Regions from separate parts of the Homo sapiens genome. Here all the other regions are linked to region 2. Evidence: promoter capture Hi-C in 16 types of primary human blood cells and fetal thymus (Javierre and others, 2016). All regions are on one chromosome and are shown on one strand. The core of a region is centred on a gene start or on the middle of the fragment in contact, and the rest is flanking DNA. Distances in the headings are between cores, read along the strand shown. Region 1 holds the start of PRSS35 (serine protease 35). Region 2 holds the start of CEP162 (centrosomal protein 162). Region 3 has its middle 25 kb from the start of PRSS35. Region 4 overlaps ME1 (malic enzyme 1). Region 5 overlaps SNAP91 (synaptosome associated protein 91). Region 6 overlaps SNAP91 (synaptosome associated protein 91). Region 7 overlaps SNAP91 (synaptosome associated protein 91).

The links. Contacts are between HindIII fragments. The CHiCAGO score rates a contact against its expected background, and 5 or more counts as called.
Region 1: a fragment that was not itself captured here is called in contact with the fragment with the promoter of CEP162 in region 2 in 1 of 17 cell types (monocytes); the score reaches 5.0 in monocytes.
Region 3: a contact is called between a fragment that was not itself captured here and the fragment with the promoter of CEP162 in region 2, in 1 of 17 cell types (monocytes). The highest score is 8.0, in monocytes.
Region 4: a contact is called between a fragment that was not itself captured here and the fragment with the promoter of CEP162 in region 2, in 1 of 17 cell types (monocytes). The highest score is 5.1, in monocytes.
Region 5: a contact is called between a fragment that was not itself captured here and the fragment with the promoter of CEP162 in region 2, in 4 of 17 cell types (M2 macrophages, M0 macrophages, monocytes and 1 more). The highest score is 8.3, in M2 macrophages.
Region 6: a fragment that was not itself captured here is called in contact with the fragment with the promoter of CEP162 in region 2 in 4 of 17 cell types (monocytes, M2 macrophages, M1 macrophages and 1 more); the score reaches 7.5 in monocytes.
Region 7: a fragment that was not itself captured here is called in contact with the fragment with the promoter of CEP162 in region 2 in 3 of 17 cell types (M2 macrophages, monocytes and M1 macrophages); the score reaches 6.2 in M2 macrophages.

Annotation. Positions count from the first base shown.
Region 1 is chr6:83,511,886-83,515,056 of GRCh38, forward strand. It overlaps PRSS35 (serine protease 35), which reads left to right and starts at 649. Exons shown (of 2, transcript NM_153362.3): 1 at 649-809. The HindIII fragment of the contact is 612 bases long and covers 1,268-1,879 here.
Region 2 is chr6:84,225,926-84,229,021 of GRCh38, forward strand. CEP162 (centrosomal protein 162) reads right to left here and starts at 1,718. Exons shown (of 27, transcript NM_014895.4): 1 at 1,655-1,718; 2 at 412-527. The coding sequence starts at 468. RefSeq lists enhancers at 1,131-1,631, 1,632-2,132, 2,034-2,193. The HindIII fragment of the contact is 5,497 bases long and covers 1,455-3,096 here.
Region 3 is chr6:83,536,351-83,539,316 of GRCh38, forward strand. No RefSeq gene overlaps it. Among named protein-coding and RNA genes, the nearest start is that of PRSS35, 25 kb to the left of the region's middle. The HindIII fragment of the contact is 3,407 bases long and covers 1-2,966 here.
Region 4 is chr6:83,424,017-83,427,434 of GRCh38, forward strand. All of the region lies in intron 1 of ME1 (malic enzyme 1), which reads right to left. Among named protein-coding and RNA genes, the nearest start is that of ME1, 5.3 kb to the right of the region's middle. The HindIII fragment of the contact is 2,514 bases long and covers 905-3,418 here.
Region 5 is chr6:83,602,507-83,605,469 of GRCh38, forward strand. The region is part of intron 14 of SNAP91 (synaptosome associated protein 91); the gene reads right to left. Among named protein-coding and RNA genes, the nearest start is that of PRSS35, 91 kb to the left of the region's middle. The HindIII fragment of the contact is 4,845 bases long and covers 1-2,963 here.
Region 6 is chr6:83,621,170-83,624,079 of GRCh38, forward strand. It overlaps SNAP91 (synaptosome associated protein 91), which reads right to left. Exons shown (of 30, transcript NM_001242792.2): 9 at 2,132-2,173. Among named protein-coding and RNA genes, the nearest start is that of SNAP91, 86 kb to the right of the region's middle. The HindIII fragment of the contact is 8,728 bases long and covers 1-2,910 here.
Region 7 is chr6:83,585,676-83,588,675 of GRCh38, forward strand. All of the region lies in intron 22 of SNAP91 (synaptosome associated protein 91), which reads right to left. Among named protein-coding and RNA genes, the nearest start is that of PRSS35, 75 kb to the left of the region's middle. The HindIII fragment of the contact is 461 bases long and covers 1,455-1,915 here.

The DNA of each region.
Region 1 (3,171 bases), core at 324-2,823, 710 kb before region 2:
ACGGATGAGGTTAGAATGCTGGTGGGACTGAGATGGGAAAGGACCTTAAAGGTTACTCGCCCAAAGAGGAAAACCAGCCTTTTCCCTGCAGACGGAAACTGACGCGCTCCCCCTGGAGGCAGCGCAGGATGCTCCCGGGGGTCCAGGCGTCCCAGCCTGAGGTCCCCATCCTCGTGTGCAGCCTGGGCGCCTGGTACAAGTCGGGGTAACCCTGAGGCTTGTGCATCCAGAGAAGCTAGGTCCCCGGTGGAGACTAGCTTGGGATAAGGTTGGGGAGACGCCCTCCGTTCTTCTAGATGCCTGGGGTCTCAACAGCAAGCAGTGAGGAATGAGACTCTTAACTGAACAACTCCTGAGACTGTTAAAGGAGTGCATACTATTACAGGGACAGGCATCCCCTGTGAACCTACTCATGAATTTTTCCTAATGCTTAATTCAGCTTGGGGGCAGAAATGCTGGGGTGAGACACGGCCAGGTCCGCCCCGTTCCTCCAGGGAACTCCCCTCTCCGCCCTCCCTCTCCGTCTCCTCTTGCCCACCTCCTCCTCCTCCCCTCCCCCCACTCCATCCCACCGCGCCCGCCCCTCGTCATCGCCCCCTTTCCCCTCCCATCTCCCGGCCGTGGTGCGGCGCAGCTCTCTCCCCCTCCGCAGTCTCAGTGGCGAGCTCTGGGTGCTGTGGCCCGGCCTTGGCGGGGCGGCCTCCGGCTCAGGCTGGCTGAGAGGCTCCCAGCTGCAGCGTCCCCGCCCGCCTCCTCGGGAGCTCTGATCTCAGCTGACAGTGCCCTCGGGGACCAAACAAGCCTGGCAGGTAAAGATGAAGCTCCCCAAACCCAACAACCTTAGAACTTAGAAATTTCCCTGAGAAAGGCAGGACCTACCCGAGGAGAGCTTCTTTGAAGGACTTTGAAGAAAGGGATCAAACTTGACACTTTCTTTCAGTCCTCAAAGAAACTAACCACCCTTCCCATAGGCAATTCTGTGTGCCGGCCTCTGCACAGTTTAATATTAACGACAACAATGTTTGCATTGGAATATAAATGGAATTCTTTCTGCTTAAGCAGTACCAGAGGGGACCCTCTTTATTTTTATGATTGTTAACAGATGCCATTGAGAAAGGTATGAAACGCATTCCTGAAAAGTCTCTTTGGCGGGGTTACTATGAAAGCTAGCCTCTCCCCTCTACCCTTTTATCAACTTGGCTGCGGAGGTCAGCAAAAGGAGCATAGGAAAACGTTTAGAAAATGAGGCGGCGAAATGAAGTAGAAAAGCTTTTGACTTGCTTTGAAATACTCTAGCTGAAAAAAAAAAGTGTGTGGGGTGGTGATGGTGGATGAAACATTGGCAAAATATTGACAATAGTTGAAGCTGGTGATGTGCACATGGGGGTTGTACTTTTCTCTCAACTTAATACTTTTCTCTGTGCTTTTGTGTAGTCTTGAAATTTTCTATAATAAAAGGTTTTTTAAAAAGTTGTAGAAACACTCCCGCTTGATTGCTCTGACATTTTTACACTGTCCTTGATTTGAAAAGAAGCTGCTTGCTGTGTCTAGGGGGCTTTCACCCCTTATTAACCCTTCTGACTTCTGAAATTCATTCTTATTTTATCCGAAGTACATTTGTCTCCACAGAGGATTATAAAAGTCATATTTTGCTGGCTGGAGAATTATACTTAGAATCTGGTTTATAATTTAGAAGAGAGAATGTTAAAATCCCTGCCAAATAAGACATGTAGGCTTGAAGGTAGAGGCCAAGTATCATATGGAATTTTATTTTTATTAGGAAATATTAGAGGAGTTCCTTTAGTGAGGGAAGTGGTAGATGTGGATACTGTACCCCATTTTTCTTCCAGATAGCTGGGAAAACTGCATGCTTTTAAGAAGCTTTTTCACGTTTTAAAATGTGAGACTGTTTAGCATATACTTGGCATACAGTATGTGTTCATTAGATGTTAAAATAAGCAATTGCTAGTGTGAGTTAATTTTCTCCATTGGGTAAATGATTTTCCTCTGCCCAATGCTCAAATATCAAACAAGCATATTGCATTTTAACAGTAGGATCAGACTCAGAATTTGGGAGGATAGAGCTACTTTACCTTAGCACTGAGGTAACTTTGCAGATGAGAAATCTGAGATGGAGAGGTTAGGAAACAGTAAAGTTAAGTTAGTAGTATGCAAGCTATTATTTTATAACTAAAAAACGTTAAGCTTCGTATAGGTAAAACTGATGTGGGTTAGCTAAAAACATTGTGACCATAGATGCTTTAAAACCTGAAAAGTAGCATACCTATTTATAGATATTCTTTGCTCTCAAAGGCCAACTTGAAAAATACAGATAAGTCTAGAGCTATATGCTGTGCACTTCATAAGGCAGCATATGAAAGAGTCCTCTTGGGGTTCCTTTAATGTCATTCACCCAAAATTTGATTTATCCATAGGATTGCACAAATTGAGATGTACAGGTCATGGAAAAATAGCCCCCAAACAAAGGGAGGTTTTGTTTTTTATTGTGATGAGAAACAGAAGTTGTGGGTTACTGTAAAATAATCAACTGTGTAACTTTACCATCTTCCTTTCCCTCAAGTACTGCCAAACTTTTTAAGCAGACATTTTTTTGGTCTCCATTTATGAAACTAAACTTGAAAATAGTGCTATGGTATGATATTTTGAATAGAAATTGGCCCACTGTCAATGAACTTTCTTGCCATTTATTCTCAGCCTAGAATCAGTGGAGAGCTTATCCTTTAGTAATGGATTATAAAGTATTTGATAAACGTGAAATATTTGGCAGGTTCAAGATTTTCCTTAGCATTGAAATAAATTGTGGCACATTTGGGGGACTAGTTAACAGTGCTGTAGGTCATGCTGGAAGTGTGCTGGCACTACAACTGTTTTTGAAAAACTATCTGCCAGAAAATTGTCTGACTGTAGACAGCATTATCAGCCCTCAGTTCATCAGGATGGGCTCTGTGGCCTGTAGGTAGGTGGGTTTTCTAAATATAATAAATTTCATATGTCTCCCTATGTCACAGCCATTTAGTATATTATTAGCCAGTTAAAAGTTTTGCCCCTGCTGAATCTTACATGCTTTTAAAATAAAATCTATTTCACAGCTGAGTAAGTGTAAACATTTTAAATACCTGCGTTAGATTTGCCATCACCAGGCTAATTTTG
Region 2 (3,096 bases), core at 468-2,967:
GAAAGAAAAAAGGCCACTGTGGAATAAATAAAGTGGGTGAAAGAGGGATATGAAGGCAGTGAGATATGTAAGAGTGAAATCATGAAAGGCTTTAAAACCATGGTAAGGAGGAGTTGTTTGTTTTTTTTTTTCTACATGTGATGGGAGACCAATAGAGTCTTTTACTGGGGAGGAACAGAGTCTGACTGCAGTGTGGTGAAAGGAATGCTGGACCATGAGTTGAGAACTGCTGCCATAGCCCAGTTGAGATGATGGCACTGAACTAGCAGTGGCAGAAAAGGGACAGGGCTAGAGGGATGATGGGAATTCAGAGTTTGGTGATGGACTAACTGTATCTTCGAGATGACAGAATTGAAGGATGAGTCTTTTGAGACAAATTTGACAATATAGCTTTTAAAAATATAAACTTACCTCTTTCATAAACTGTTCAAACTCTTCATCTAGCTCTTCTTGGGAACAGTTAGCCATAGTCAACAATTTTGACCTCCCAAAGTAAACATTCTAAAGTACCTCAAACATTGGAAACACTAAATGACAAGAGACATAAACATCTTTTGAGGAAATCCATCAGATCATGAACACGACCAGACTTAAACTTCGGACATTTGTTATGATTCAGTATATATGCACAATTTTTTTTAACCAGTAAGAGCTGGTCAAGAGATTCCTAATTCATTAAGCAAACTGATTTGGAAAAGCAGCTTTGACAGGATGTCTTGTACTCAACGTTCAGAATTATGTTTTCATCTGTTAACATCCAATTGTTAAAGAGTGGTCTCTACAATATTTCCCAAACCTATGTTTGTGTGCATGTGTTAATTAGTACCTCTCAAACACAAACCAGGTCCTCACAGGGAATCTTAAAAACTGTAAGTTAGCAAATCCAAAGGACTGTTTCTTTCTTGCAAAGCACACGACAGTTTGTGCTGCCTTATCACTCGGCTCGTTATTTTACCAATCCATAGTAATAGTTTCGTAAAGCAGACTGCATAGTTTCGTAAAGCAGACTGTATCCAGATACGGGGATGTTTCAAAATATACACAAATAGAATTTAGTAAGAATTAGTAATTTAGTCAAAATACTTAAAGAATACTTAAAGTTAATGGAGTACACAAATCAGTACTATGTTTCTTTTGAAGCGAGGGAAGACCGACAAAAATTATGTGCTGAACACAAGCAGAATCCAGTGATTTGCAACGGAAAGCGTTCCCCTAGACACCTAATGAACCCAACCTTGGGTCGACCCCCAGCTCCTGAACTCCCTAGAGCAGCTCAAATCCCAGCTTTCTTCTGTAGAGATGGGGGAGGGGAAGAGGGCTTGCAGACCCGGACAATACCCTCCCCATCGTGCAGAGTAACACCTCTTCCCCTCATTTGCACTTTCGATCAGTTCAGGGTAAGTGCGGTTAAGGTCTTGGCCTGAATAGCTTGGTCAGGGGTGAGCTCCACTAAAAGCTTCTCAAGCCTGGCTGCGACCCCGTCCCCAGAAGCGCGGGTTCGGGAATTGGAGGGAAGACAAAGACGCATTTGCCGTGGGCTCCGGGCGGAGAAGGGGAATGACCTGGAAAATTAAAGCCCTTCGCTCGAGTATGAAGCACGGCCTCGACCAGGGCGATTTGGGTGGGAAACCAGCGTTCACACCTTACCACCTACCTCTGCCTCTGAATTCCGCGCTTTCCCGGAAGGTCTGTGCGGGTCCACCAGTTGTCAGGGTAACAGACTTCAGCTGCCGGGTTCTGGAGTCACATGACCCGGGCTGGTCACGTGGGCCGTGGGTTTCCCAATGCCTTTACAAGCGAAGGTCGGAATAACCACGGCTGAGAAAGACACTCTAGTGGCTAAACCTTCGCTGCTGCAGTAAAATGCCTTTCCTTCCCTGGCTTTCTCTACGTTCCTTAGAAAAGGGGACAGCGGCAAACCGGTTACTGGAGAAGCGAGACGGAGGCTTCCAGCAGGCTTGGAGGGCGCGGTGGTTGTAGGCCAGCCCGTGGCTTTCTGGGAAATGTAGTTTAGCTCCCCTGGTCCTTGTGTTTCCGCACTCCGCATCGTCGCCTCCCGCCTTCCCCACACTTGTCATTCGAGCGCTCTGTTTTTCCAAGGGGCAATTTTGAAGAGATTGAATTTCTTGGATTTCTTTGGCCTGCAAAGACCTGTGTAGGCATTGTGAGAGAAACACAAACCTGTGAGGAAAAAAACTGTCGTTTAGATGGGGACTCTGTTCCACCACCTAGTGGGCAAGAAATCGAAAATACGCAAACAGCAAGATTCTTATTAAGTTATTGCTCCTCCCGCTACCCCTACTTTTCAAAACTGCATTCTTTACTGGCATTTCACAATTACTGACTTGGATTTTGTTTTCTATTTCTTTTCTTTTTTTCAAAGCATGCAACATTAGCTGGAGTTTCAGAGGACAACATTTAGCATAGTGTAAGTAAAATCTACAACAGCTGCAGGTTTTGCTGATGGTAGACTTAGTTCAGGACCTCATCTTTAGCTAGAACTGTTTATTCATCAAGTCTTTCTTGCAATACAAATATGTACAAACCAGGAGCTGTGGACTATGATGCAAATATGAATAATAAAAGAAATATCTTAAGCTACCATTTATTGAGAAGTTGACTTCCTGCCACCTTCTATCAAAGACTTACCTTCCCACATATGATCTAGAGCCTTTACCCATTCTTCTTCTCACTGATCTTGTTCCACTGGTCATTTCCCTTAATCCTGTATCTTCGACTTCTGGCTGGCTGTGGGATTTTTCCTAACAGCATTTGAACATGCCTTGAGATCCCCACCTAAAACATCACTTCTGACACATTCTCTTCATGCTATTATTTCCCAGTGGTTGAAATGATCTGTCTCCTCACCTTACTTGCCAATCTTTTCTGAGGAATTATTTCCACTTTACCTCCCTTTTGTCAGACCTTTTAATCCTGTCTCTGTGTGTGTAAGTGTACATATATGACAGCGCTTTATTTGATCTCCCAATACTATTTGATACACTTGTCTCCTCTCTTTCTTGGTTTTTCTTTCACATTTATAGCCTCCCCTCAAGGGTTTTCACTGTCTCTGTCTATCCTAGCTGACCTCTAAAT
Region 3 (2,966 bases), core at 354-2,853, 690 kb before region 2:
TTTACGTCAGGTAAATGTGAACAAATGGGAATTTTGAGAAGGAAACCTTCTGGAAGCACTATTTAGGCTGTACTGGGGTGGTTTGAGTGGGGATTAGACGCAAAAGAGCCCAATACAGAGACTGCTGGAGCAGCCGTGGTAAGGAAAAGGCAGAGAGAAAGGCAAGAGAGGACACCTTGTGAGATATTTAGAGAGCTGAATGTTTACTATACTTAGTGGCCTTTGAATACAGGAGAGAAGAGTTGAGGGTGTTCTGTTCCCTGAACTTCTGGTTTGGGAGACTGGGTAGATGGTGAGAACACTGACCAAGACAGAAAGATTAGGCTTGGGGAAAAAGATAATGAGTTCATTCTTAGACATGTATGTTAAAAAGTGTTGTAGGATACTTATCAATAACATTGACAATACCCTTAATAATGACAAGAAAGTTAAATAAAAAACGTGGTTCTATAGTGAACTAACCTATTAATTAACAACATAACCAGTAAGTCATATAACTATATTTTGTTCTGAACTCAAATAGCATCTACACCTTTTTTCTCTTTCCTTTCTTCTTTTTCTTTCTTTCCTTCCTTTTCTTTCTTTTTCCTTCCTTCCTCCCTTCTTCCTTCTTTCTTTTTCTTTCTTTCTCTTTCTTCTTTTTCTTTCGTTCGTTCTTTTTCTTTCTTTTCTTTCTGATTTTTGACTTTCCGACTTTCTAACTTTCCTTTCTCCTTCATTCCTTCCTCTTTTTCTTTTTTTCCCTTTTCTTCTTTCTTTCTAACTTTCTAACTTTGCTCTTTCTCCTTCCTTCCTTCTCTTTTTCTTTCTTCTTTCTTTTCTTTCCTTCTTTCTTTTTCTTTCTCTTTTGTTTCTCTCTTTCCTTCTTCCTTTCTTTCCTTTCTCTCTTTTCTCTCTCCTTCCTCCCTCCCTCCTTTCCTTTCTTTTCTTTCTCTTTTTTCTTTCTTTTCTTCTTTGTTTTCTTTCTCTCTCTCCTTCCTTCCCCTCCCTCCCTCTCTTCTTTTCTCTTTCTTTTCCTTCCTTCCTTCTCTTTCTCTTTCTTTGGTTCTTTCTCTCTCTCCTTCCTTCCCCTCTCTCCCTCCCTCCCTCCCTTTTCTTTTTCTCTCTGCTTCTTTCTCTTTCTTTTCTTTCTCTCCTTCCTTCCCCTCCCTCCCTTTCTCTCTTTCTTTTCTTTTCTTCTTTCTTTCTTTCTTTTTCCTTCCTTCCTTCCTTCCTTCCTTCCTTCCTTCCTTCCTTCCCTTTCTCTCTTTCATTTCTTTCTCCTTCCTTCCTTCCTTTCCTTGTTCTTTCTTTCTGAAAGAGTCCCTACTGTCACCCAGGCTGGAGTGCAGTGATAAAACTATGGCTCACTGCAACCTCAATCTGCCAGGCTCAAGCAATGCTCCCACCTCAGCCTCCCGAGTAGCTGGTACCACAGACGCATGCCACTATGCCTGGATAATTTTTGCATTTTCTTTAGAGACAGGGTTTTGCCAAGTTGCCCAGGATGGTGCTGAACTCCTGGGCTCAAGTGATTTGCCTGTCTTGGCCTCCCAAAGTGCTGGGATTACATGTAGGCATGAGCTGCCACACCTAGCTACCTTTCTTTTTCTGGTCTAAACAAAATGTTCCTTTTAATTTATCTCTAAATCTTAATTTTTTTTCCCTAAGAGACAGGTTTTCTAAAAATCTGGTCCTAAATTTACATCTGAAATATTACATGCATGGTCACAACTGCATTTCCTGTTTTTCAATACAGTGCCAAAATCCACGTGATCCAAAATACGGATGATTTAAAAAATAACTCCGACTTTCCTTGGGACACATTTATAAGACTTTTCAGACCATTGTGGGTTCTGGTTTACAGATACCGCTACAAATTATAAAAGTAGTTAACTTACCCCAAAGATGTTTCATACACTGAAAAAGAAAGATGAACCACAAGGATGTTGGGTGTCTGGAGATGAATTTAGTATCAAAGGGTGGTTTAACACCAGAGAAAATGATCACTAAGAGGTGACTGTCTCCCTTTATCTTTATTGCAAGGGGACCGCTCCAGGCCCTGCCGCTTTGTGGGGCTACTGTTTGCAGGCCTGGGTGCTGTTCTAGGCTACAGTCTCTTGTAGTCATAGGCTTTTGCTAAAAATTTTCACCCTCCTCCAGCCCTGATGGTTGCAACCTGCACCACACTACTGTGTTCACTCTCAATATTCTTATGTTCAATATCATCTTCCATCTCAGTCTAATCCATTACTAAATATTTTTTCTTTAAAAAAGTCATCGTCAATTCACAAAGTATGTTTGTTAATATTTTTGATCTCCAAGTAGAAACACTTTAAATTTTATCATTGGCCAAAAGCATCCATCAGCATCTTTATGTTCTTAGAAAGTGTCACTGGATATTGGAAACTGCGTAAGGAGTCTCCAAGAAATGGAGTTTAATCTCTGCGATGGATGCTTCTCATGCCATGCCAGCCCATTTCCCAGCTGGAGCACCCATCCTCCAGTGTGGTCAGGGGACTCCTAAGGATGCCAGAGAACCTTTCAGAACGTCCATGTCAAAACTGTCTTCACAGTAATACTAAGACACTCACTTTCCCACAAGTGTGCTCACAACAGAATTTTCCAATAACTACCTGACATGGGCTATTGTAACATGTTGAATGCAGAAGCAGATATGAGAATGCAGCTGTCTTCTGTTAAGTCTAAAATTAAAGAGATTTGCAAAAATGGCAAAACGGGACCACTTTTTTAAGTTTCTAAGATTTCACCTATATGTGAAATCTAAAAAAGTCACACTCATAGAAGCAAAGAGTAGTATTTTTCATAAAATATTTTATTTAATATATAGTGGTTTTAATATTTATATTTTTACTTTTACTACATTATTTTGAGACAGAGTCTCACTTTGTTGCCCAGGCTGGAGTGCAGTCACATGATTCGGCTCACTGCAACCTCTGCCTGCCAGGTTCAAGTGATTCTCCTGC
Region 4 (3,418 bases), core at 912-3,411, 800 kb before region 2:
AGTCTGGGAGGTCAAGGCTGCAGTGAGCTGTGATCACGCCATTGCACTCCAGCCTGGATAACAGAGCAAGACCCTGTCTCAAAAAAAAAAAAAAAGGTATAAACATTACATTAAATTACTATTTTAAAAATATTTGTGTAATACATATATAGAGATATAAGAGGATATAATACATATAACTACAACATAAATAGAGGAAGGTAATGAGATCTATATAATGGTAAGATCTCTATATTTCAATTGAAGTGGTGAAATTTTAACTTTAAGTTGACTGTGAAAAGTTCGGTATGTGTATCATAATCACCAGACCAAGTACTAAAAACAAGCTATACAAAGAAATATTGTCAAAAACTCACAGAATAAATCAAAATGGAATAATAAAAATATTTAAGTAATTAAAAATTAGGTTGGAAAGGAGAAATAGAGGAATGAAAAATAAGGGAACAGACACCTATGATATGATAGAAATCTGTTTATCTCTCTGTGTATCAACAATTACATTAAATGTAAATGGCCTAAACACAAAAATCAAAAGACAGAGATTGTCAAAAATTGGCAATGGCTACAAGCAAACCTGACTGATTAGATCATTACTGCTTCTCACCTACATGTTCCTGTCAAAGTCCAGAAAATGTCTACTAAACAAAGCAAGGGAAAGTGCTGTATTATGAAATTTTGCTTCAATTACAGAAGTATATCATTAGTTTGCTAGGGCTGCCACAACAAAGCGTCACACACTGGGTGGCTTAAACATAAATTTATTTTATCAAAGTTCTGAAGGATAGAAGTCCAAAATCAAGGTGTCTGGAGGGCTGATTTTATTCTATGGCTTCTCTCCTGGACTTACTAGATGGCCATCTTAAGACTCTGAATAGACAATTTAAATGTATTTAAATATATTCTAAGCTTAAAGGGCCAATGCCTAATAGTACAATGGAAGTCTTAGAACTCCTTCAGCCTCTGGATCTCTAAGGTTTTATTCTTTTGTTTTGTTTTGCTTTGTTTTGTTTTTCTGAGACAAGGTCTCAATCTGTCATACAGGCTGGAGTGCAGTGGGTGTGATCATGGCTCACTGTGGCCTCCCACCTCAGCCACTCAAGTAGCTGAGACTACAGGTGCACACCACCATGCCCAGCTTTTTGTATTTTTTTTTCTTTTTTGTAAAGATGGGATTTTGCTATGTTTCCCAGTCTGGTCTTGAACTCCTGGGCTCAAGTGATCCTCCTACCTCGGCCTCCCAGGTGGCTCACATCTGGCATTACAGGTGTGAGCCATCACAACTAGCCTGATAACATAATTACTAACATTGGTATGAATACTGTATTAGTCTGTTCTCATGCTACTAATAAAGACATATCCAAGACTGGGAAATTTATAAAGAAAGATGCTTAATTGACTCACAGTTCAGCATGGCTGGGTAGGCCTCAGGAAACATACAATCATGGCGGGAGGGGAAACAAACACATCCTTCTTCACATGGCGGCAGGAAAAAGAATGAGCAAAAGGGGGGAAAGCCCCTTATAAAACCATCAGATCTCGTGAGAACTCACTCACTACCAGGAGAACAGCAGCATGGGGGTAACCACCCCCATCATTCAATTACCTCCCACTGGGTCCCTCCCACAACACATGGGGATTATGGGAACTACAATTCAAGATGAGATTTGGGTAGGAACACAGACAAACCATATCAAACACACAAGTATTTTTGCCGATGTTCTTACTCAACCATTACCTGATTATTGAAAAAATAATACCAGTGTTTTTAAATCCAGGGTCTGTATATTAGTAGAAAAGCTCTAGCAGTTATATTCTCATGTTTTTAGAGAACATTATTCATTATTATATTACCTGACTTCCTACTATGGTTTCAATCTGTCCCCAAAAGTCCATGTGTTGTTAATCCCCAATGCAACTGTGTTAAGAGGTGGGATTTTTATGAGGTGACTAGTATTGTTAATGCAGGAGTGGGTTCGTTATTGCAAGCAAGAGTGGGTTCCTTTATAAAAGCAAGTTCAGCCCTCTCTTGCTCCTTCTCACCCTCTACCATCTTGCCTTCCGCCATGGGATGATGTAGCAAGGAGGACCTTCCCAGATGCTATATCACACAGCTAATTGGGAGGCTTGGGACTTGGGCTCATTTCTTCTAGGCACAAAGTTTTAGAATGTCCATTCCTTTACATCACATTCTCCCCTACCTGTCCAAAAGTTAGAGGGAAATCAGAGCTGAAAAAGGCAAAATCTCAAATCCATTCCTTTCTTCAATATTTTTTATACTCCATATCACCTGTCTCAAGAGTTACCATATCAAACTCACCTTTCTTATTACAGCACACATTTTGTTATTGTGATATTCTATACTACTACTGTTGTTTCCACTGCAGCAAGGTAACAAACATATACAGAGGTACCTGGCTGTATATGACTTTCACATAAGTGGGATTCTATGTTAAATAATAAATCAGTTTCTCACGTTGCAGAGGCAACTCTAGAGAATGTGGTTGGATGAAATTTTCTGAATAATTCATTCAGGTCTAGTTTACATTGAAGAAAAAGAGGTTTAGGGTACTTTTCCTTCATTGCCATGAATCTTATTTCTCTCTCTTTCTTACAACACACCCAACTAGGTCTTGTCATGCCAGGAAACAAACAGCTACAAAAGCTGATTTTTTAGATGTAAAAGTTAGTAATGATGACCCAAATTAACTTCGATAAAACACTATCTTCTACTGGAACGTAACTCTTAAACATGACTTATACTGAACCAAACTGCCTAAAATATGGAAGAGTGGTGTTGTTTGGAGATTTACTTATGGGTCATGTTATTATTTACTCTTAAGATATAGAAACCATGTAAGCACAATTATGATAGAACTATCAATTAGTGTTTTCTACCATTGCAAAGGGAAATAAACTAATTGAGAATAAAAAATAGGCATGATTATTTTATTATGTGTAGAATTTTAATTTTGAAGGGCAATTTATGAAATATTATTAGTCACATGAAAATTATTGAGAAAAAAATTTAAAACACAACTCATCTATATTAGACCATATCCCTGAAAATAAAAAACATTAAACATTAAATTAGACACATTTATATAAAACCGGCAAAGATAAGCATCTCAAAAATAGTTAGGGCTATGCACAGAAAAATATTAAATCTCATAAACATGAGGCAGATTTACTTCCCCAATTGTTTTGATGAAATCCTACCTTGAATGATGCATATTTTAATACAAACAAATAGTAAGGCTTAGACTCATACATGAATCATAACAAATGAAGATCCTAATTCTCTTAAGTTTTTTGAAAATTTTTGAATTCATACCATATCTACTGTTAACTTTGATTTTACCAAGATGAAGCACCTCCCTTAGGTTATCCAGCAAGTAATTAAAATTTCATGAGATTATCA
Region 5 (2,963 bases), core at 239-2,738, 620 kb before region 2:
TCAAACAAGATTGAGAAAACAATTTTATTTTTTTGCTTAGTCAAATAAACAAACACATATCTGTTACAATTTAGCATCACCTTCAACCATGACTGGGTATCCACCGGGCAAATTGTAGAAGTTTATTTCAATTTCTTAAAGTCTTATAATTTTTACTATTTTGCTTAGAAATTAGAGAATTTCTTTATTAGCATTTCCCCCCAAAGCTGACTTTTCTATTGCTATGAAATGTTGCAGTTGTAGATGTTTTGTTGCGGCAAAAGTGCTGTCTAATCATCAAAAGGTGAACATCAGGCCCTATAAGGTGCCTTTGTACTAATTATAAAAACGTACTCCCTGGGGCAAGGAGAAGGACAGCATTAGGACAAATGCATAATGCATGCGGGGCTTAAAACCTAGATAACTGGTTGATAGGTGCAGCAAACCACCATGGCACATGTATACCTATGTAACAAACATTCTGCATGTGTATCCCAGAACTTAAAGTTAAAAAAGAAAGAAATAAGAAAGTTTACATGGTTTTCACATATTTATCATTTTAAACAGGTTAAAGATAGTACCTTTCTTGGGTAAGTGTAGTGATGACCAGCATAGTACTTGTCACAGGAGCACTCAATCAATATTAGCTTTCATTGTAACTTGAGAGCTATCTTAGTTTTTATTGTAAAATTAATCTTATGTGTTTATCAAAAAAACTTTAACCTTATAGTCATTTAAAATAACTGAAAAAAGCATAAAAATATGCTTTTAAAATCAAACTACTATGGAAACTGCTTTACCCCAAATTTTGGCCCATTAGCTTACCTATTGGGACAACTGATGTTTAGCCATGTGAACAAGCCCCATTTTGTCAGAAATATAATTTGGATCCAACTGCCTTTTTGTGATTTTTTTTTCTTTATTTTTGAGAAAGGATCTCACTATGTTGCTCAGGCTGGACTCTTAACTACTGGGCTTAAGTGAGATTCTCATCTCAGCCTCCTCAGAAGCTACATGCATGAGCCACTGCACTCAGTTTTTTTAATCCAACTGTCTTTGGTAAATCAGTGAGTTCGTTTTACTGTCTTATGGCTAAAATTTGAAAATAAAATAAAAGCTATATTCTAAAATAAAAGCTATAATATCTTAAAAAGAAGAAAAAAAAAAGGTACTCCCTGTAGTGAGACAGATTAGAAAAAGTAAAGCATCTCTTTCTCAAGGATAATGAGAAAGGCTCACAGCGTGACTATAGAGTTCTGGCTGGATTTCAGCCCCCTTGCCCTGCCTTTGAGCAATGCATGATCTACATTGTCTGTATAGTACAGCCCTGGCTAAAACCATACTGCTCTGCTTTGTCTTTTTATGTCCAATGGTATGTTAATGTTTCAATCATCAATAGTTACATATTTCTAACTTTAAAGGCTAAAATGTATTCTAATAAAATTGGTTATTACAATCAATTCCTTACAATATTATGTGTCTTAGCAAAAAGTATTTAGAGATGAAAATGAATAAAAATGTTATATTGCAATTCAACAAAATTTCACCTTTTATTTTTTCCTTTTATTTGGCATTCTTTTAGTGCCAAAATTTTTTAAAAAAAGATAAAATTTATCTTCAGTTTCATGCCAGGGAATATGGAAAAGGGACTAGTTTACAGTTTCACTGTTTATTCATTAAAGTTCTAACAAAGACAATATGGTAATGAAAATAAATTATTAGCAAATTAAAATAATCAGTGATGAAGCTCAGAATAAAAACATGAGTAAAAAAGAATGCCCTTATAAAATCTCTTTAGCAATATTTTCCTTTACCAATAGAAATTTAATAAAGTTAAATAAAGCTGAGAGAACAATTTTATTTTAAAAATTGATAGCTGTAGCCTTAGGAGTTGAACATTTCAATATAGGATAAGGTTTACATATTTAAAATGGAAACGTGCCAACATTTTAAATGTTCTTATTTATAGTTAGCAACATTATTTCAGAACTGGTTATCTTTCTCTTATTTTTGTTACCAAAATAACTTGGAAATGAGATCAAGAGATTACAGATAGGACTTTTGATGTTATACTGACACACTGTTTAACAAGACCACCAAAGGACATTCAATTATTTAGAGAAATATAACTTCATTTGACTTAGTTATTATTGTGCACTAAAGGCTCTGATTCTCCAATGTTATGTTGTTACAGATCTTGTCTGCTAGTGATGCAAATAATCTCTGTATGGGAGAAAAGATAACCTCAAGGCTATGATTTTTATTACCCTATAGGTCATTAACAGCTTTCTATCTAACCTAGCCATCTTATTCTAACATTCCTTTTAAAATACCTATAAATACTCAGTTCCTCAAAATGTTCTTTGAGACAGCTTTATCATCTTGCTGGTTTCCTCATTAGTGAGTTACTAAGTCTTTTATTTCTGTTGCTCCTATAGTTGTACAAGGCATGTCTTAAACTTTTTGAAAATTTTATTCTGATAGTTTGGTACAGGAAGGCATGGTATTTAAAACCAACTCTTTGCAGCTTTGAGCATTATGAAGCAATTACTTTAATTTTTATATTAATATTAAATGTTTTAAATCAAATATTTATAAAAGGCTGATTTTTTTCCTGAGATCCATAAATAAAGTGGGAATCAAGTGCTTAGATGTGATTCCTCTCAGTCAATCAGTTTAAAGTATGGATTTTTCTGGTACAAATAAGAATCTGTAAAAAGATTTCAACTGTATGAAGTCAAATACAATGTGAATAAAATCAATTCAGGCCTAAAAGAATCCAGGAACGAGGCTACACCTGACCAAACCAAATTGGAAATGTTACCTTTGAGTAACCATAAATTAAGGGGAATACTCAATCCTCAAGGCCTGAGTCTCTAGAGAACAATTACTAAAAATAATCAGAATTTTAGAGTAGTAATAAAAAAGAACAACAAAAAACCCACAAAACTTCCTTGTTCCAACTGTTAAAATAAAAACTATAT
Region 6 (2,910 bases), core at 303-2,802, 600 kb before region 2:
TACTCAATGTTTAGCTCCCACTTATAAGTGAGAACATGCAGTATTTGGTTTTCTGTTTCTGCATCAGTTTACTTGGGATATTGGCCTCAAGCTCCATCCATGTCTCTGCAAAGTACATGATCTTTTCTTTTTAATGGTTGTATAGTATCCCATGGTGTATATGTATCACATAAAAATAAATGTTAATATTGAAATTTATGTGGCGCTTAAGGTCATAACAAAAGAAGAGAATAGAGTGCTAATAGATTCTAATGAATTTCTACCATAGAATAGCTTTCTAACAGACCCAGGGCAAGATTTTACTTTCTTTGAGGGAGGAGTCTCTGTTCCCTAAATTATGAAAACACACATCTTAAATCATTCAGTAAAATATAATGTTTCTGGGCTTCTTGAGGGGGAGATTATAAATATTATAATGACTATAATAGTATCATTAAAAATTTAATCCAAGTATATGATTTCAATGATGTACTTTCAATGACATGCTCTCATTGTCTAATGTTAAAAGCAAAAACAGATTTAAGTAGTCATTTGAATATTTCCTTGTTTCCTTTCAGACTGCCCAAACTAAGTATGATAGATGAGGACCTATATTCTTAACTGAGAGCCTACTTTCTCTTTTATTCTACAGTAAGGGTGTCCATAGATGTGAAATAAAGATGATTTGCCACTTCTAGAAGCTATTCATTAGCTTCTAAATATCAGAGCTAAATATTTTAATGTCTTAAAAGTTAACATGTATTACTTATGTGGATTATTTTTTAAAATGTACTATAAATTTTACTAAAAATGATTAGTTTAAATGAAAACACACTTATTTTCTTTGCTTTTAATTATAGTGTTACAAAGATAAATCTATATCTAATAAAGAGATTTTTAGTGGCACTTTATGCACACTTAATTTTTTGGCCATATCCAAAATGATACCAATATCTTATTCAGGTATGTGCCTCGTCAAAAAACACTGTTTTCTCATAGTAGCAGAAATATTTTATACCAATATTCTGTCTATGAAAAAGAACTGCTTCTCAACTTTTCACTAAAAAATACAATGCCATCATGTTCTGGATTGCTCTGTGAATTTTATTCATAAAGAATTCTTGATATTTAATTGGCATTTTAATAATACAAATAACATTTCTTTGAGTTTCCCTAATTTTTAATAAAAACTTAAGGATTAATATTATTTTAAAGATGGAAACATTTCAAGGCATAATAAGGACAGCAAATTACTAAATGCACTTTGATATTATTAACAAGTAGGTATCTTTCATTATGACAATTTTTTCTATTATAATGACTATATTTACAAGGACAGAAAGTTCATATATTCATTACTGGTAAATAAGATAGCAGCTCTGTGTTTTCTCCTATCATCTCTACAATAACATCATTGCTAGTTAAATAACATGTTTGGGATATAACTGTACCATAACAGAGTGCTTAAGTAAAAACAGTTCCTGCCAATTATGAGAAAGGTTATACTATACCCATGAATGACCTTGAATCTATATATTAGGATCCATACACAGTACCCTCTTCACAGATAAAATGATTGATACAGAAGCCCCTCTATTGTTGTCATTTACTAGATGGGCTCCAGAAAAATTGCTCATCTACCACTACTATTTTATTAGCTTATTTTATACATGGACATTTCTCCATTTCATAGGGGAGACAAGTAGTTCAACTGTGACATCAGAGTTTTCCCTATTCATGGGTCTCCTTCATATCTGGGACATGTTGGAAACTAGGAAGACAAGCAGGAGGAAAAGTTCTAATATTCTGATTATCAGGCCTAGAAATAGTGACTTTTCATAGCCAAAGCATTTCTATTAACATTATTCAAGGTTTCCTTTTGATCAAGTTTAAAATGAAAAGATGAGTTCATTTACTAAATTCAGTTGCGTTTAAAGAAGAAACTATATCATAAGAACAAGAAAATCTTCCTATTACCTCCAGAAATATATTCAATGGCTAGAAACAATAAATAAGGTAGAATAATTTCCAAGAAAGTTGGTTGGCCTAAGTTCAAAATGCATGAAATGCTTACAAGACTATGCCCATTTGTGGCAATATATGTTGTAATAATCTCATGCATACTGAATCTTCCACTGGGAGAGTTGCTTACCTGTGTGAGGTCAGGAATGTCACCTTTATCAATACCAACTTGCTGTGGATTTAAAAAATTAGAAATTAGTAGAACTTTTAAAATTAATTTTTTTCATTTAATGGAAGATCACCTACACAATTAGTTTAAACAGCTCAATATTGGTGTAAATGAATTATTTTATGTATCACTCTCACTTGGAACATATGCTTTTTATGCAGTTTTTCACTCAATATAATAGAGCAGTAATTTCATTAATATAGTTAGACATAACAAATGTATAGAATTCTACTAGAATCCAAAAACAAATGACAACAAATTGAAGCATAAAATGTAATGGTATCCTTAGTTAACAGAAGCTCAAAATGTAAAACACTGCTTAGACTAAATTTAGTAGTTAATTATGCCCAGCTTCTGGATAGGGAATGCTCATTTAGTTCTAAAACTCATTCAGGGTATAATTTCCACTCTTTCTCCCACAGACCTAACTTTGTTAGTTTCTTATGTATCCTTTCAGAGTTTCTTTATGTATATTCAAGGAAATATGAAATTATACAAATATATACTTATTTCCCCATTACAACACAAATAATAACATATTATATATAATGAACTTATGTTTCACTAAAAAATATATCTTAGACATATATCCATATCAACACACAGAATATCCTCATTTAATAAACAGCTGCATAGAACTTCCTTGTCCTATATTTAATTAGTAACTTATTAATGGACACTAAAGTTGCTTTTGATCTCTTGCCATTGCAAACAGTGCTGCACACACCATTTTGCATGTG
Region 7 (3,000 bases), core at 435-2,934, 640 kb before region 2:
ACTGCTTTTTAATCACAGATGATTAGTCTTATGAATGTGTTATTCTAAAGGGGAGTAGCCCACACTCTTAATGAAGTTCTATTGATTCAGATATATCAAGTCTGACTGTCATAGTCTACATAGTCTATCTAACACATCATATTGTTTCAGTTGCAGGAGTACAATTTTTTTTTCTTTCTTTTTTTTTTTTTTTTGAGATGGAGTCTCGCTCTGTCACCAGGCTGGAGTGCAATGGCGCCATCTTGGCTCACTGCAATCTCTGCCTCCTGGGTTCAAGCCATTCTCCTGCCTCAGCCTCCCAAGTAGCTGGGATTACAGCGTGTGTCACTACACCCAGCTAATTTTTGTATTTTTAGTAGAGATGGGGTTTCACCATGTTGGCCAGGATGGTCTCGATCTCCTGACCTTGTGATCTGCCCGCCTCGGCCTCACAAAGTGCTGGGATTATATAGGCATGAGCCACCGTGCCCGGCCACAAGAGTGCAATTTTAAAACTACTGCTAAAGACACTTCCACACAGGATGATAGAATTGATCCTCTGTAGACTTTTACCTTTTATAGGAAATTGTTACTTTTTAATGCCACACTGGGCATGTTTGTATTTTAAATTCAGTTCAAGGACTTCTGTGGCTCATTTTAAGCAATTAATGTGGTTAAGAGAACAAATGCAAAACTACAAAGGGCCTCATAGGCTGGACCATATAGTCCCTTGTCTTTGCAATTAAAGATAGGATGTGAAATTCTCTTATACTAGTACAGATTTATAGTGCAGTCACCCTAAAATTGTGTCTATGATGGAAAAACATGGTTGTCCTGCTCGATGCCAACCTCAGATGTTAGGCATATTCCTCAACACACCTAACTTCCTTAACAGTCCATTTTTACCTTTGTCATCCAGTAGTCTGCCTCTAGCTTTCAAACATCTGTATTTTCAGTTGGTATATTTTGAGCAGAGTTTGACAGCTTTACTCTTCACTGTATGAAATATTTACTTTTATTATTTAAAAACTTAACTTTCAAGTTTTCATTCAGATGTTACCTGAGATATGGATAATATCTGTATCCTACCAGTAATCTCAATGGCTTGGAAAGAATTACTCATTGTTGTTATGGATTCTCCCCTCTGCTTCCCCCCACCCCCATTATTCCTTCCTTTCTTCATTATTTTGATAATGATTTTTCTAGTCTGGCCTCTTTGGAAGTTGTCCTCTCCAGAATTTTTTATCATTTCACTATACTGCATGCACCAAACACCTTAAAATTTTTACTCAAGGGGTAGAAGACGACTAAGGCAATATTTCAAGTGCTGTTTAATTCTGGAATTGGTATTATCTGACAGTTCTAAAACTGAATTTGAATAAAGAAGAATAGTTTTTATGATAGATAGGTTCATTTTCAAGACTATCTAGTTAGTCTTTGTTTTCAAGTTTCAAAATGATACCAATTTTTAACAAAGCTTTCGCCTCAATTTTAAAATGGTTCTTAATGTTTAGTTTAAAATCTCTAAAATCATTTTAAAATTTAATTATATCATATATTTATTGCCTTATCTTTATGATTCACATGTAAATGTATTCACTCAAAAAAATCTAATCTTAGGCATGGGGTAAGAGTCCTTAGTCCAGTGACCAAGGTTCCCTTTGAACAGTCTAAACCTCCCATGACAGTGTCTGCATATTATTTTTCTTTTTCATTCTTTCTCAAAACAGTTTTATTACTAAAGGCAATCACAGGATTCTAGAGAATCTTTTTCTCTCTTCTCTCTCTTTGATTCTGATCATATTTGTGGGCTTGCTATGTATGACTAGGCTCATTTATTTATTTTTTTTTAAAAATCTTCTTAGTTTCAATAGACTGTGGACTTAGCTGATCCCTCCCCCAAATAAACACAGACACAACTATAATACAAATGCTAAGCTTCACTGCAAATTACTACACACAGTGCCCCAAATATTTGTCCTACTTAATATGCATTAAATAAAAATGTACGAGAATTGTGAAAACTCAGAAACAGCCAATTGTCAGCTAGGTTACAAATATAAATGTGACTGTGGTTTTATATTGCGTTTATTAGCAGAATTTTTTTCATTTTTTATTTTTTTGTTTTTGGCTAGGAAAGTTGCTCCTAGTTCACAGGATAGAATTATATTAATATTCCATGATGTTCTTTAGTGAGAATATGACTTCCTTATGCTTTGATACTTGAACAAGCGTGAGAAATATTTTTCTATAAGAAAACAGGGAAGTATGAAAAATTAGCCCCCAAAATTAAGCCCTATGGAAATTAAAAGTTAAAATTTCTTATGCTAGCTTATTTTTGTTTTTTGTTTTCAGTAGAGATTAGGGTTTCACCATGTTGGCCAGGCTGGCTCAAACTCCTGACTTCAAGTGATCCTGCCCATCTGGGCCTCCCAAAGTGGTGGGATTATGATTGTGGGACACTGCATCCAACCCCTTATATCAGGATATAAGGTGAAATAATATTTCACATTGTGCCAAATAAATCAGGCACTGACATATGTATACATTAAATTACAAGAACTGTTTTGAAAGCAAATGAGACATTAAACTCATCTATACTGATTTACATTGAATATTAATTTATTTAAATAGAAAAGAGAGAAATAAGAAAGTGTACACAATATATAACTTTGCCTATCACTGAAAGAGTCACAAGAAGATGCAGTAGAAGAAATGGAAAGTGTGTAGTAAATGAGACCTATGTAGATGACATTGGGTACTTTCATTGATGATTTTCTCCTCTTTTCTACCCCATTTTAATAAGATTTCAGAATAGACAACACAATTGAATAATTTTATTTTTTGTAAAGTGAACTAACATACTTTTTTTGTAGACTTCCCCTGCTGGACCTGTCCATATACCAAGCTGTGCAGCTGTGGCACAGGTATGTGCAGTTACACCTGGCAGCAGGTGACAAACCCCTTCAGGCTTGTTCTAGATGTGTTTTTAGATTCTTATTGCATCCCCCAGGGTCAAAT